Linked DNA regions of Homo sapiens: region 1 is linked to region 2. Evidence: promoter capture Hi-C in human tissues and cell types (Jung and others, 2019). All regions are on one chromosome and are shown on one strand. Each heading gives the region's core, a stretch centred on a gene start or on the middle of the fragment in contact. The rest is flanking DNA. Distances are from core to core; before and after follow the strand shown.

Evidence for each region. Contacts are between HindIII fragments. The study calls those that stand out against the background at their distance.
Region 1: a fragment that was not itself captured here is called in contact with the fragment with the promoter of SLC22A8 in region 2 in 4 of the 25 tissues and cell types used here (H1 embryonic stem cells, bladder, mesendoderm cells and 1 more).

The regions. Positions count from the first base shown.
Region 1 is chr11:63,260,717-63,267,776 of GRCh38, reverse strand. No RefSeq gene overlaps it. Among named protein-coding and RNA genes, the nearest start is that of SLC22A25, 21 kb to the right of the region's middle. The HindIII fragment of the contact is 6,692 bases long and covers 1,947-7,060 here.
Region 2 is chr11:63,010,347-63,017,287 of GRCh38, reverse strand. It overlaps SLC22A8 (solute carrier family 22 member 8), which reads left to right and starts at 1,447. Exons shown (of 11, transcript NM_004254.4): 1 at 1,447-1,559; 2 at 2,305-2,662. The coding sequence starts at 2,330. RefSeq lists an enhancer at 1,588-2,442. The HindIII fragment of the contact is 24,341 bases long and covers 1-6,941 here.

The DNA.
Region 1 (7,060 bases), core at 4,043-6,542, 250 kb before region 2:
GTGAGAAAATAAATTTTTGTTGTTTAAGTCACCCAGTCTGTGGTATTCTGTTATGCAGCCCAAGCAAACTAAGACATTTCTAACAATTTACAACAGCATCTCACGATTCCTTAGATTTAATCTTTAGAATGAATCCATCAGAATCGTTTCCTGAAAAAGAATCCTTGCAGGCTGGGCAGAAATTTGCATTTTAACATGTTTCATGGATGATCATTTTGAAATTCAAGGATAAGAACCTCTAGTTAGTCTGCAGAATAAATTCTACAGGCTTTGCTTGTTTGGTTTGGCTCTTCATTCAATCAACCTACCTTCTCTCATTAATACCCTTCATGTTTTGCAGCTTCCAGCTTTTCAATATCCTATAGGTGCACAGTTATACCACACCATTTTGTTATAATTGTACACTTATTATTCCCTCATTTAGAAATTGGCTTTTTTTCATTCACTATTTCATTATCTCAAGAATCTTCCCCTAAGAATAGGTAAAAGTTAATTTCTACAGTGATGACTCCTTTGTCCCATGGCACCTACCCAGGAATCATTGAACAGTTTCTCTTTAATTCTTCCATAGGACACTGTCTATTTTCTTTATAGTTATGACATTACAGTATAATTATTTATGTACCTATCACTTATTAACTGGAATATGAAACTTTATAACATTGATGTCATATTTTACTTATAAACATATAAACATTTTACTTATAAACATATAAACAGATTAAGTATATAAATAAATACCATTGCTTTACAGCAATAGCAGCAGAAAGTTCAAAATGCTATTTGAAAAAATCAACAAATTTGGTGAAATAAACTATCACATAAAGACACTATTCCCTTCCTGTCTACCTCTTATCTTTATTTCCCTATCTCAAAAATCTTAACATCACTGTCACTGGTATGATTTGAACTGAAGCAGAACTTCAGTTACCAAAAGTCAATGTTTATACTTAACATTCCACCTGCTTTAATTAGACAAGAGCAAGACTCTTGTGTTCATTAGTGTTCACTAACTTTTAGTCAAAAGTCAGTCCTCAGCAAGAAAAAGCCATTCTCTTTGCACAAAGCATAATAAAGCAGTACACTTTTAAGTATCCAATATCCCTTTTCTGAAAAGAATGGCATACCATTGATCAGGTATAATTTTAGGTGTATTTTAGGTTGTGTGGAAATTATATCCACCTGAAAGTCCACTGTTGACTTCTCAGAAAGCTCAGAGATCAGGATCTTTCACAGAGTAGTCCTTTAAGAATATTCAGTTGTCAAAAGATAGATGTACCTTTGCCAAATAATTATATCTGTGACTTCGCTGAAACTATCTAGCTGCCTAAACTCAAAGGACTTGAGGAAAGTCCTTCCATTGCTCTTCTGCAGTGGTGTGACAGGGCCCACTGAGAAGAAAATGGTGTAAGGATCCACATGGCACTACTGTGACTTTGTGAAAGGGAACACTTTCTTCTTCTGAACTTATCTCTACAAAGTCATTGTGCTTCCTCTTGGGGATCACCTGTTCTGTCTCGATGGGTTTTGATATGCTCCTGGATCAAGTGGGTGGCCTGGGGAGATTCCAAATCTTTCATCTGATTTTCCTTACAATCTCCATCATTATACATTATCCTCATCTTCTATTGGAGAATTTCATTGCATTCATCCCTGGTCATCACTACTGGGTCCACATCCTGGACAATGACACCGTCTCTGACAATGACACTGGGACTCTCAGCCAGGTTGCCCTCCTGAGGATTTCCATCCCACTGGACTCAAACCTGAGGCCAGAGAAGTGTCGTTGCTTCATCCATCCCCAGTGGCATCTCCTTCACTTGAATGTGACCTTCTCAAACATGAGTGAGCCAAACACGGAGCCCTGTGTTGGTGGCTGGGTATACCACCAAAGCTCCTTCCTCTTCACCATTGTGACTGATGTAAAGGGACATGTTTAGATCTTCTGTTTATATGATCAAGATGTTTGGAGTTAACACAAAGAACAGACTTGCTTTATACCCTTAGTCCTCAGATGGTTACTGTTATCAGCTCTTTCTTCATTCCTTCAGCAGGTAGCAGCAATTGCTCACCAACTCTACAATACAGTCAAGCGCATTAGTATTGAGTGAATGAGCCAAACAAACTCAACATGAACCTCCTATTATATCGTCTAATTTAGTGAGAAAGACCTACAGTGTTTAAAGTAATTGAAATACTGTTTGGCAAACATTATGCTAGGTTAGTGTTCTCAATACTCATTGCAAAACTGATATCCACAGCAAGTAACCTCTGAGTACAGAATCCAGGGATCAGTATTTTTGAAGCACTTCAAGCGATTCAATGTGTGGCCAAAAAAAAAGATAGTTATTGTAGTAGTTGAATTATAAACTGCTAAGTGAAGTCAATGGCAAGGCCCTCATGTGGCCTACATGATGAAAAAAAGCCTTCCTGTAAAATTATGGGTTTCTAATATATTTTTTAAATTTAGGTAACTGAAGTTTTTTAAAAAAATTGTGTCCTTATATGTTTTTAATTATAATACCCAAAGAATGTGTATAACAACACAATAAAAGGTGGTCTGAGGGGAAAATGAATAAAGACATGTAGACACACGAATACAGACTGTTGGAAGGCTGGGAATTGAGAGGGAGAGGCAGCTGCATTTGAAAGCCTGAAATAAGTTTAGTTTTAGAATTTGGGCTACTAGAGCGTAGTGTCTATAGATGAATCTAGAGAGGGAGGCAGGACCCGCATAGCTGAGGATTGTGTACATATGTCAGTGTTTGGAGTCAGTTTCCATAAAAGAGCTGAAACTCTTCTCAAGCTCTGCTATGCTGATTTCCTTCTCTTCTAGTGGTACCTGGTATGTGAATCTCAGTGACTAAAATTAATCGGGTGGTAGTGGCACACTCCTGTAATCCCAGCTACTTGGGAGGCTGAGGCAGGAGAATTGCTTGAGCCTGGGAGGTGGAAGTTGCAGTGAGCTGAGATCGCACCACTGCACTCCAGTCTGGGTGACAGAGTGAGACCCAGTCTCAAAAAAAAAAAAAAAAATTAATGATTCAATCCCTACTTAGGGCTGGGTCACTGCTGGGAGGTCTAATATATGGCCATCTTTCAGACAGGTGAGTGTCATTTAACTTTCTTTGGGGCTATTTTTCAGGTGATATATTCATTTCTTTATTTTATAAATATTTAGTAAGCACTAACTGTATACTTTGCACTGTGCTATGTGCTGATCTCTCTTTCTGACTTCAGGAAGCTACAGCTGATTAAGAATACTTGGTGTTTGAATTAGAAATTATAGTTGGATATGATCTGTTCATTGTACTGCATCAACAAGGACAGAAAAAGACATCTAAATAGGATTCAAAGAAGTTTCAAGAAGGGATTTTTAGAGTAGTTTACAGGATTTTACATTTACATATAGAAGTTAGCTCAATACAGGGAGAGGAAAGCGGTTTGAGGCAGAAGGTGCCTTCCTGTTTGAAAGCACAAATTTGTGAAACAGTGTTATTGGCCTTGAAAATATTCTTAGCCACCTAGATCCTGTGAGATAAATCATTACAGACACTTTTAGACTGGCCATATTTTCCTACCTGCAGTGTAAGTGCTTATGTGCAGTGGATAGTCATTATAAAATCTGAGGGTTGTGCAAGCACTGTGGCACTCGCAGGATTGGAAGACATTGCACCTCTAACCTGGATGCTGATCCTGTGGAATAGCTTTAATAGGTAATTTTTGCAAAGTAAGAACCCAGGATGACTTGGCTTAAGGATGAGATATTTAGGGCTTTCTGTGTCCTGGCAGAGCTCCTTCTGGAGGAGGCAGTCAACCATGGCTGTCACTGAAGCATGTCACCCACAAGGACACTGAGAGGAGTTTAGATGCTCAATGCCATCTAATAGTCTCAGTTAAAACTTGTGACCTTTGAGTCTATCTCACTTACATATTACCTGTATATATTTCTGGGTTAGAGAGTTCATTTTCCCCTTGTGTTCAGACTTAGGCCTCTGTGCCATTAATTCAAATAGCAGAATTAATGAATTAATTAAACATTCGAATTTAAAAAGTGAATAAATAAGGTTTCTCAGGTCATAGGTCCAAGTTAATATCCATTAACAGTAAAAAGATGGGCAGAGGGGGCCAAGATGGCCTATTAGAAGCAGCTGCAGTTGGTGGCGCCCACCAAGAAGAGCAAAAATGGTGAGTGGATCCTGTGCCTTCAACTGAGGTATCCAGGTTCTCTCATTGGGACTGACTAGGCGGTTGGCATGATCCACTGAGAGTAAGAAAAAGCAAGATGGAACGAGGGCCCACCCAGGAGTTGCATGGAGTAAGGGGAGCCCCCACTCCCAGCCAAGGGAGGGAGTGAGTGATTGTGGTACCCTGCCTGAGAAACCACGCTCTTTCCACGGATCTGTGCAACCCATGGATCAAGAGATCCCTCGTGAGCCCACACCACCAGGGCCTTGGGACCCAAGCACAGAGCTGTGCAAGCTCTTGGTGGCTGCCCAGGTTGCAGCCAGTGGCAGCAGGACAGAGACTGCCTAAGAAGACAACCATCACTGTGGCTCCAGTCTGCTGTTCTCCCCTGCTGGTGCCAGGAAGACTGGGCAGTTTGGACCAGCAGGAATTCTCCGCAGCATGGAACAGCAGCTGTGGCAGATTGTGGCCAGACCCTCTGGTCCCAAATGATTCCATCCCTCTGATGTACTACATTATCATGTGTGAAATGTCCAGAAAAGTATTATTTCATTATAGCACACACTCAAAGTCCAGAATCTTACCATTTAAATGAGGTTCAAGTGTAAGTGAGACTACTTACATGGAGTTCTCTGGCTTTTATCTTTGTATTTGTTAATCTGTGAAACTGAAGAGACAAGACACTTGTCTCCAAAACACTCAACACACAATAATAATACAAGCATCCAATTACTACTGTAGACATTCCCGTTCAAAATGGAGGAGACGTGAGACACAAGGAGTTCAGAGCAATTATGAAGTGCACTTAGGCAAATATTAGAAGTTCCTTGAATAGGTCTGGAGGCATGAAAAATGAAAGCAATTTGGCTCTCAGCCACAGCCTCGTGCCACTTGGATCCAACATTTTTTTTAAAAGACAGAACATACCTCTAAGTGAATAGTATTCTCAGCTACCTTCCCACCCAGAGCATTTTGAGGACTACACAGCCTTTTTATTTTTGTACTGTCTTTGCCCCTTGCAGTCAAATTGGCAGCATTTTTCTGATAAAGATTTCTTTAAAAAGTTGTGGATGTTCTGTGAATCTCTTTGTGGTTTATCTTATTAGAGAAAATCTACCCCAACAAATATCTTTGAGATAAACTTTTCACCTTGGGCTTCTGCTGAGATGGTGAAGAAACAGTGCACCTAAGTATCCTAGAGCCTCTGTTGTTTGATTGAGGGGCATGTCCTTAATCTTTTTAAAGGCCCTTTGTTTCTCAGTAATACACAGAATCTTTGACCTTTCTGGGACCTTAAGAAATGTTGTACCGGGCAGACCTGGCAAGACGGCCAAATAGGAACAGCTCCGGTCTGCAGCTCCCGGTGAGATCAACATAGAAGGCAGGTGATTTCTGCTTTTCCAACTGAGGTACCCGGCTCGTCTCATTGGGACTGGTTAGACAGTGGGTGTAGCCCATGGAGGGTGAGCCGAAGCAGGGTGGGGCATTGCCTCACCCCAGAAGTGCAAGGGGTCAAGGAACTCCCTCCTCTAGCCAAGGGAGGCCTTGAGGGACTGTGCCATGAGGAACAGTCCCAGCCCAGATACTATGCTTTTCCCATGGTCTTCCCAACCCACAGACCAGGACATTCCCCAGGGTGCCTACACCACCAGAGCCCTGAGTTTCAAGCACAAAACTGGGTGGCCGTTTGGGCAGACACCAAGCTAGCTGCAGGAATTTCTTTTCATATCCCAGTGGTGCCTGGAATGCCAGCAAGACAGCCATTCACTCCCCTGGAAAGGGGGCTGAAGCCAGGGAGCCAAGTGGTCTAGCTCAATGGATCCCACCCCCATAGAGCCCAGCAAGCTAAGATCCACTGGCTTGAAATTCTCCCTGCCAGCACAGCAGTCTGAAGTCGACCTGGGAACTAAGCTTGAGCTTAGTGCGGGGAGGGGCATCTGCCATTACTGAGGCTTGAGTAGTTGGTTTTCCCCTTACAGTGTAAAAAAGCCACAGCGAAGTTCCAACTGGGCAGAGACCTCCACAGCTCAGCAAAGCCACTATAGCCATACTGCCTCTCTAGATTCCTCCTCTCCAGGCAGGGCATCTCTGAAAAAAAGGCAGCAGCCCCAGTCAGGGGCTTATAGATAAAATTCCCATCTCCCTGGGACAGAGCACCTGGGGGAAGGAGTGGCTGTTGGCGCAGCTTCAGCAGACTTAAACGCCACTGCCTGCAGGCTCTGAAGAGAGCAGCAGATCTCCCAGCACAGTGCACTAGCTCTGCTAAGGGTCAGACTGCCTCCTCAAGTGGGTCCCTGACACCCATGTCTCCTGACTGGGAGACACCTCCCAGCAGGGGCTACAGACACCTCATACAGGAGAGCTCCGCCTGGCATCTGGTATGTGCCCCTCTGGGATGAAGCTTCCAGAGGAAGGAACAGGCAGCAATCTTTGCTGTTCTGCAGCCTCCACTGGTGATACCAGTCAAACAGTGTCTGGAGTGGACCTCCAGCAAACTCCAGCAGACCTGCAGCAGAGGGGCCTGACTGTTAGAAGGAGAACTAACAAACAGAAAAAAATAGCATCAACATCAACAAAAAGGATGTCCATTCAGAAACCAATGCCAAAGATCAAAGGTAGATATACCTATGAAGATGGGGAGAAACCAGCACGAAAAGGCTGAAAATTCCAAAAACCAGAATGCCTCTTCTTCCCCAAAGGATCACAACTCCTCACCAGCAAGGAAACAAAACTGGGTGGAGAATGAGTTTGACAAATTGACAGAAGTAGACTTCAGAATGTGGGTAATAATAAACTCCTCCAAGCTAAAGGAGCATGTTCTAACCCAATGCAAGGAAGCTAAGAACCTTGAAAAAGATTACTGGAACTGCTA
Region 2 (6,941 bases), core at 198-2,697:
AGGAGTGATGTTGAAGACCAGCCTAGGTGACTTTTTTTTTTTTTTTTTTGAGACGTAGTCTTGCTCTGTCACCGAGGCTGGAGTGCAGTGGCACGATCTTGGCTCACTGCAACCTCTGCCTCCTGGGTTCCAGTGATTCTCCTGCCTCAGCTTCCCAAGTAGCTGGGACTATAGGCGCGTGCCACATGCCTGGCTAATTTTTGTATTTTTAGTAGAGATGGGGTTTCACCATATTGGCCAGGCTGGTCTGGAACTCCTGACCTCGTGACCCACCCACCTTGGCCTCCCAGACTGCTGGGATTACAGGCTTGAGCCACCCCGCCCAGACCTCTAGGTGGCTCTTTAAGGGAGAGGCAATATATTAATAGTACAGTGCCCCCATAGGCTTCGTAGAGAATGTTGGTTCTAAGGGAGGGAATAGGCTTAGGGCCACCCTGCCCCTGCCCTGTGCTTCCTGGCTGGGGGATGGTGAGGAGGTCACTTAATCTCCCTTTGCCTCAGTTCCCTAATTATTAATGCTAGACTAGTCACAGGGCTGCCGTGAGGGTTAAAAGAGCCTAATGTTGGTGGCTAGAAGTTGAGGTCTTAGACTGAAGTCTCTGCTGAGGAAAAGACCAGAAGAACAGATAGGCTCTCAGGTGAGACTGGACATTTTGCTTTGTTTTGATTTGTTTTGTTTGGCTTGTCTGTATTTCCCATGTTTTATGCAGGAAACACACATTATTATATAATTAAAATAATATTCAGAGTGAAAATAAAACAGCAGGGACTACATTTGGTCCCCAGGGGGAAGCGGCTGATCAGGAGAGAAGCCTGTCCATTGAGGGTGGGATGGAAGGGGGCAGTTCACCTGTGTCAGAGACACAGACACGGAGGTCCTGGCTGCCCCAGGGGCCCAGGAGATGGCAGCCCTGCGTCCTCAGGGATAGATGAAAGTGACATTTTCTGTCTGGGTGTGCCCTAACACTTCCTGAGAGGCAAATCCCCTTCCCCTACTCGGGAGGTGCCAGGCAGGGGAGGTAGCACACAGGAGAATGCTGCCTGCTTACGGGCACCAGTGCCTTTCCCATTGGTTGTCCTCAGCATCAAGTCCTCTGAACATCAGTTGAGAGGGACCTTGAACCCTCAGAGGTCAGGCCAGATTCCTTCCCAGAATCTCCCCTCGGTGAGCCTGCCAGGGCTGCTCGCGTTGGGCGGATGTACAAAACGGAGGCACGTCTCAGACTTCCCATTTGGGCCCGTGGTGTCCAGCCAGCAGCCCTGCTAGGCTCAGCCACGCTGCCCCACCCCCAGCGGCCCTCGCTGAGGCAGCCCTTTGAGGAGAGCTGGGCTTGGTGGGTCCACAGCACTCTCCCTGCCAGTGACGTTAATCCGCAAAAGAAAGTCAAACATTAGCCCGGGAAACAGCTTATGCCTTATATAAGCCCCCCTGGGGGAGGCACAAACACAGCTTGTTAGAGCTGAGCTGCCCTACTACAGCAGCTGCCGGCCCCTAGGACAGAGCAGGGACCTCAACTACACTGATCACCAGCCCCATCGGATCCAGACCCGGCCACCAGGTGAGGAGGGATGGAGGGCCTCCCCAGCCCAGGCACCTAGGAATCCCAGGGATCTCCCAAGGCCAGGCTCCACTTGCGACTAGCCAAGCCCCTAGTGCCCTCTGAGACCTGCTTCGGGCTCTTACAGATACTCCAGCATGGTGGGCCCAGCCCCAGGGAACTGCCAGAAGCCAGGAGGCTCTGAGCTTGGGGAGGCCTTTCCCAGCAGACAACCTGAACTCTGCTAACCCTGTGTATCTGCCTGGAGCAACTGGGGACATTCACCACCCACCCTCTAATCTGTCCTTTGTAGCCAACATCCAAGGCTGGGCCCCTTGGTCCCTGCTACGTGTCCTGCACTGCTCCATGCATGCAGCATGTGCAACCAGCCTAGCTGAGCACACACATGCTCGTGTCCGCAGGTGCACACGCTCACAACACATACCCGAGCTCACGCAGCTGTGTCCTTATGCTGCAGCCTAAATGAGCACATACCCATAGATACCTTTGTGTCCACACACCTGGACACACACTTCCACCTTTGATCCCACAGCCCTCCGTGCAGCTGGGCTCTTCCTCAGACATCCACACAAGAATCTGCGGCTCCACATGCCTGAGCTTCCACATCTTTACACACTTACACATGCTCTGCTCCACACACCTGTGCTCGCATATCCACCTGGTTCACCCTCCCACATATCGTTCCATAGACCCACGCACTACCAGGCACAAATATACCTCTCCCTGGCCTATGCCCTGCCCACAGCTCTGGCTCGTCTTGCCCCAGTGCCATGACCTTCTCGGAGATCCTGGACCGTGTGGGAAGCATGGGCCATTTCCAGTTCCTGCATGTAGCCATACTGGGCCTCCCGATCCTCAACATGGCCAACCACAACCTGCTGCAGATCTTCACAGCCGCCACCCCTGTCCACCACTGTCGCCCGCCCCACAATGCCTCCACAGGGCCTTGGGTGCTCCCCATGGGCCCAAATGGGAAGCCTGAGAGGTGCCTCCGTTTTGTACATCCGCCCAATGCCAGCCTGCCCAATGACACCCAGAGGGCCATGGAGCCATGCCTGGATGGCTGGGTCTACAACAGCACCAAGGACTCCATTGTGACAGAGGTATGCCTGGGCAAACCCTCTCCCTCCACTTACCCACGTACCCCCATACCCTGCACCGCTGGTGGGCAGCAGAGGAGGCTGGGGTCTGGTGTTCCCAGGAACTGAGGACAGGTCACTGGGCAGGCAAAGAGGAAGGACCTGAGTGCAGAAGCTCATGCACCAAGACCCTTGGCTTCTTCCCACTCAGAGTCCAAGCAGTGCTTCAACAAACTGCTACTGAGGGCCTGTTCTGTGACGGGCACAGAGCTAAGCTCTGGGAATACAAAAATGCACCATGCCTGCTCCCAGGGGGTCTACAGCCCGGTGGAGATAGCACCCATTAAGGAAAACACCACACAAATAAGTGTAAAATTGCAACTTCAAAGTGACCTTGCACTATGACCGACCTCTGGGGTGGGTGTGAGAGTGAGGGCGTGGGGAATGGGTGTTGAAGGAATCCTCCCTACAGAAATGCCCCTGGAACTGAGATATAAACATCAGTCAAGGGCCAAACAGGCAGTGAGGGAAAGGAGGAAAAGTCCGTCTTGTGCAAAGACCCCAAGGTGGGAGGGCTGTGGAGGAGGGACCGCACAGAGGGGAGGCTTGAAACACTCCACAGCAGACCCAGAAAATGTCTCATCCACACACACACAGTCACTCATGGGTTCACCTCTCATTCCCACAGCCCTTCACTGATTCATTGACTCTCTCACCTGCCACCTCGGGGAAATCCAGAGTTAAATCAGACTCTTCAATGAACTGACAGGCCAGTCAGGAGCCTATGATAGGATGAAGATGAGAAATTGGGGATTGGCATGTATTGGGCGTCACTAACTGACAGGCACATTTGGGGGCTTTGTAGACACTGTCTTGTTTGATTCCAACGTGATGCTCCGTTGAAGGTGATTTCTATCTCCCCTTACAGAATTTTTAAAAATAAAAAACCTAAGACCCAGAGAAAGGAAATGATTGTCCAGTGCCACATGGCTGGTCAGTTTCAGAACTGGAATTTACAGCTAAAGCCCATAAGAAGTACAGGGAGACAAATGTTTACGGGGGTCCAAATGAGGGAGAAACTGTTGGATTCAAGGGAGGCTTCATGGAGGAGGTGGCGTCTGAGCAGTGAGCAGAGACCAGTGTTTTCATCCTCCCTTGGGTACCATGAACCCCTCAAGGGCAGGAGCCTGTTTTGCCTCATGAGAAGAGATGCGTTCGTTGCAAAGCCCTTACCTGGTGCCAAGCACTATACATCTGTGGGTTCCTGGAGGCCCAGGAGATGTAATCTCTTTAAGAGAAGTATTATCTCCAGTTCACAGATGAGGAAACTGAGGCTCAGCTTGATTCCATGACCTTCCCATGTTATACACGGCTAGAACCTGGCAGAGGCAGGATTTGAATTTAGGGCTATGTTCAGAGTCTGTGTGATTGTTATTCATTTGTTTAACAAATATTTTTATATAAAGTGCTTACTATGTGGTAGGCATTGTTCTAAGAGCTTCACAGATATTAACACTTTTAACCTTCCTGAACACACTGTAAGATAGTTTGTATTGTAATTCTCTCTCTCAGATGGGGAAACTGAAGCACAGAGAGGTTAAGTAGCTTGCTCGAGGTCACACAGCTAATAAGTGGCAGATTCAGGACCCAAACACACACACCTGCCCTCCACACCATGACATTTGCTGCTCTCATATACCTAGATTATATCTCCTCCCTGTCATGTTTGCTACTTTCTCCCCCCAGCACCAAGCATAATGCCTGAAACCCATCAAGTATCCATTTATTGACACCCAGTGCATAATACTGAGGACATAAAGTCGAAGAGCCGCTAGCCCTGCGTTCCCTCCAGGAGCACACCACCAGCGAGACGCAGACCCGCTCTCAAGGATCATGGGCAGTTTGGTGGAATACACACGTTTCCCAAGGCAGGGATTTTCTGCTGCTTTGTTTACTACTCTTATCTGCAGCAGCTAGAATAGTGCCTGGTACAGAGGAGGTGTTCTGTGGAATGAATGAATATGCGCTTTGTACACTCAGAGTGCTCTGAGGCCCAGGGGAGGGTTATCTAACCAGCCTGGAGTGAGGATTGAGGCGGGCTTGCTGGAGTCAGTAATGCCCACACTGGGCATGGAGAGGTAGGAGTTAGTGAGCAGCGCACTCCAGGCAAAAGGAAGGATGGTGGGGGAGAAGGGTCAAACGCAAAGACACAGAGGCAAGAAGAAAGGCCGGGCGCAGTAGCTCATGCCTGTAATCCCAGCACTTTGGGAGGTGAGAGTTAGTGAGCAGTGAACCCCAGGCAAAAGGAAGAGTGGCGGGGAAGGAGGGTCAAATGCAAAGGCACAGAAGCAAGAAGAAAGGCCGGGTGCAGTGGCTCACACCTGTAATCCCAGCTACTTTGGGAGGCCAAGGCAGGCAGATCACCTGAGGTCAGGAGTTTGAGACCAGCCTGGCCAATATGGTGAAACCCTGTCTCTACTAAAAACATAAAAATTAGCAAGGTGTGGTGGTGCACACCTGTAGTCCCAGCTACTCAAGTGGCTGAGACAGGAGAATTGCTTGAACCTAGGAGGCGGAGGTTGCAGTGAGCCAAGATCACACCACTGCACTCCAGCCTGGGCACAGAGCAAGACAACCCCATCTCAAAAAAAAAAAAAAAGAAAAAGAGAGCAAAAAGTCAAGATTGCAGTTTCCAGGGGAAGGCTGGAGGAGTGAGCAGTAGGATATGGAGGTCCCCAGACATGGAGCTAGAGAGGACAGCAAGAGGGCCCAGCTTGGATGCTACAGAGGTAAAGGTGTGGCCTTTGTCCTAAGGGCAATGGGGAGCCAGTGACTGTGGTGGTGTTAAGCAGGAGAGTGACACCACAGGTCACCTTCGAAGGCTCGTCACTCTGACTGCCCCTTAGAGGGTAGTTTGTGGAGTGTTTTAGTCCAGCAGCAGGGAGACCCGTTAGCAAGCTGCACAGGGATCCAGGACAAAGACGACAGATAGAAGGGACAGTCAGAATAGATACCAGGAAGGCCAGGAAGTTGGAGTCTCTGGGACCTGGTAACTGAATGCAACTGAATGATGCAGGGAGTGAGGGACAGGGAGGGAGTCAAAGATGCCTCAATAGCCATAAGTAAGTTTCCAAATGTACAGGTGACTTGCCGTGCACCTGAGACCTGGGAAGACAAAGAGGAGTAAAACCCACCGCCCATGTCCTCCAAAAACACAGAACCTAGCCAAAGAAACAAAAATCTCACAGAGAACAATTAAATCACCATCACAATAACATTTACTGCATGCTCACACTGTGCCAGATGGTTCTAAGCACTTCGGCCACATAAACTCATTTCATCTTCACAATAACCCTCTAAGGTTAGCACCTTTCTTATCCCATTTCACAGATGAGGAAACTGAGGGACAGGTCATTGGCCCAAGGCCTCACGTTTCATACAGGATGGAGTGGGGAGTCAAAGTCAGGAGTCAGGCTCCAGAGCCTATGCTCCTCAGGAATGCACAACCCCCAACCCACAATCCGTGAGGCTGACTGTGCACCCTGCTGCCCAGGGACATCACAGATCCTCCTTCCCTGCCTTTAGTAGCTTCTCCAGGGCAGAGACTGTGCCTCTCTCACCCACCCTGTCATCACAGGACTAGATGCATGGCAAGTGCTCAATCAACACTGAATGAAGGACTTGCCCCCTCAGAGCCTGGCGGGAGAGACAGACGGGAGGGATGTAGACACCGCTCACTGCTGGGAAGTGGCTTCCTTTCCAGAAAACCCCTCGAGAAGCCTCTAGAAAGGCCAGACGGAGAGAGAGGTTGCAGGTCTTGTACCCAGTCAAGCATCAGTTCACGCTTGAGCCAGTTCCCAGTCACCATTTCAGCAGCTGAGATAGTGTGAACCGCCATCCCAGCAGGACGCCGGGGGTCACCAGGCCTCAGGGCACCGCACCCTTCTCTGGGTCAGGTCTGGCCCAGGCATTCATCAGGTGCCAGATCCCTAGAACTCTCAGCTGTGAGAGCACTTAGGAAGTGTCCCTGCCCGGCCATTAATGCATTAGTGGCTGGACCCAGCCAGCCACACTGGTACCAGCACAGCAAGGGCAGAACCCTTTCATCTTTCTGTTTGTGGTTCAGCCATAACAAGTCCAGTTCCATGTGCTTGGGTCAGGTTCTGGTGCCCCTCAGCTAGAGAAGAGCAGTAGCTGGACCTTACCTAGAAGTAGGTCTCTGACACAGAGGCGGGAAACCGATGCGTTGGCTCCAGGTGAAGAGGGTGGTAATGAGGAAGGCAGGGTATTTGGTGAAGAGCGA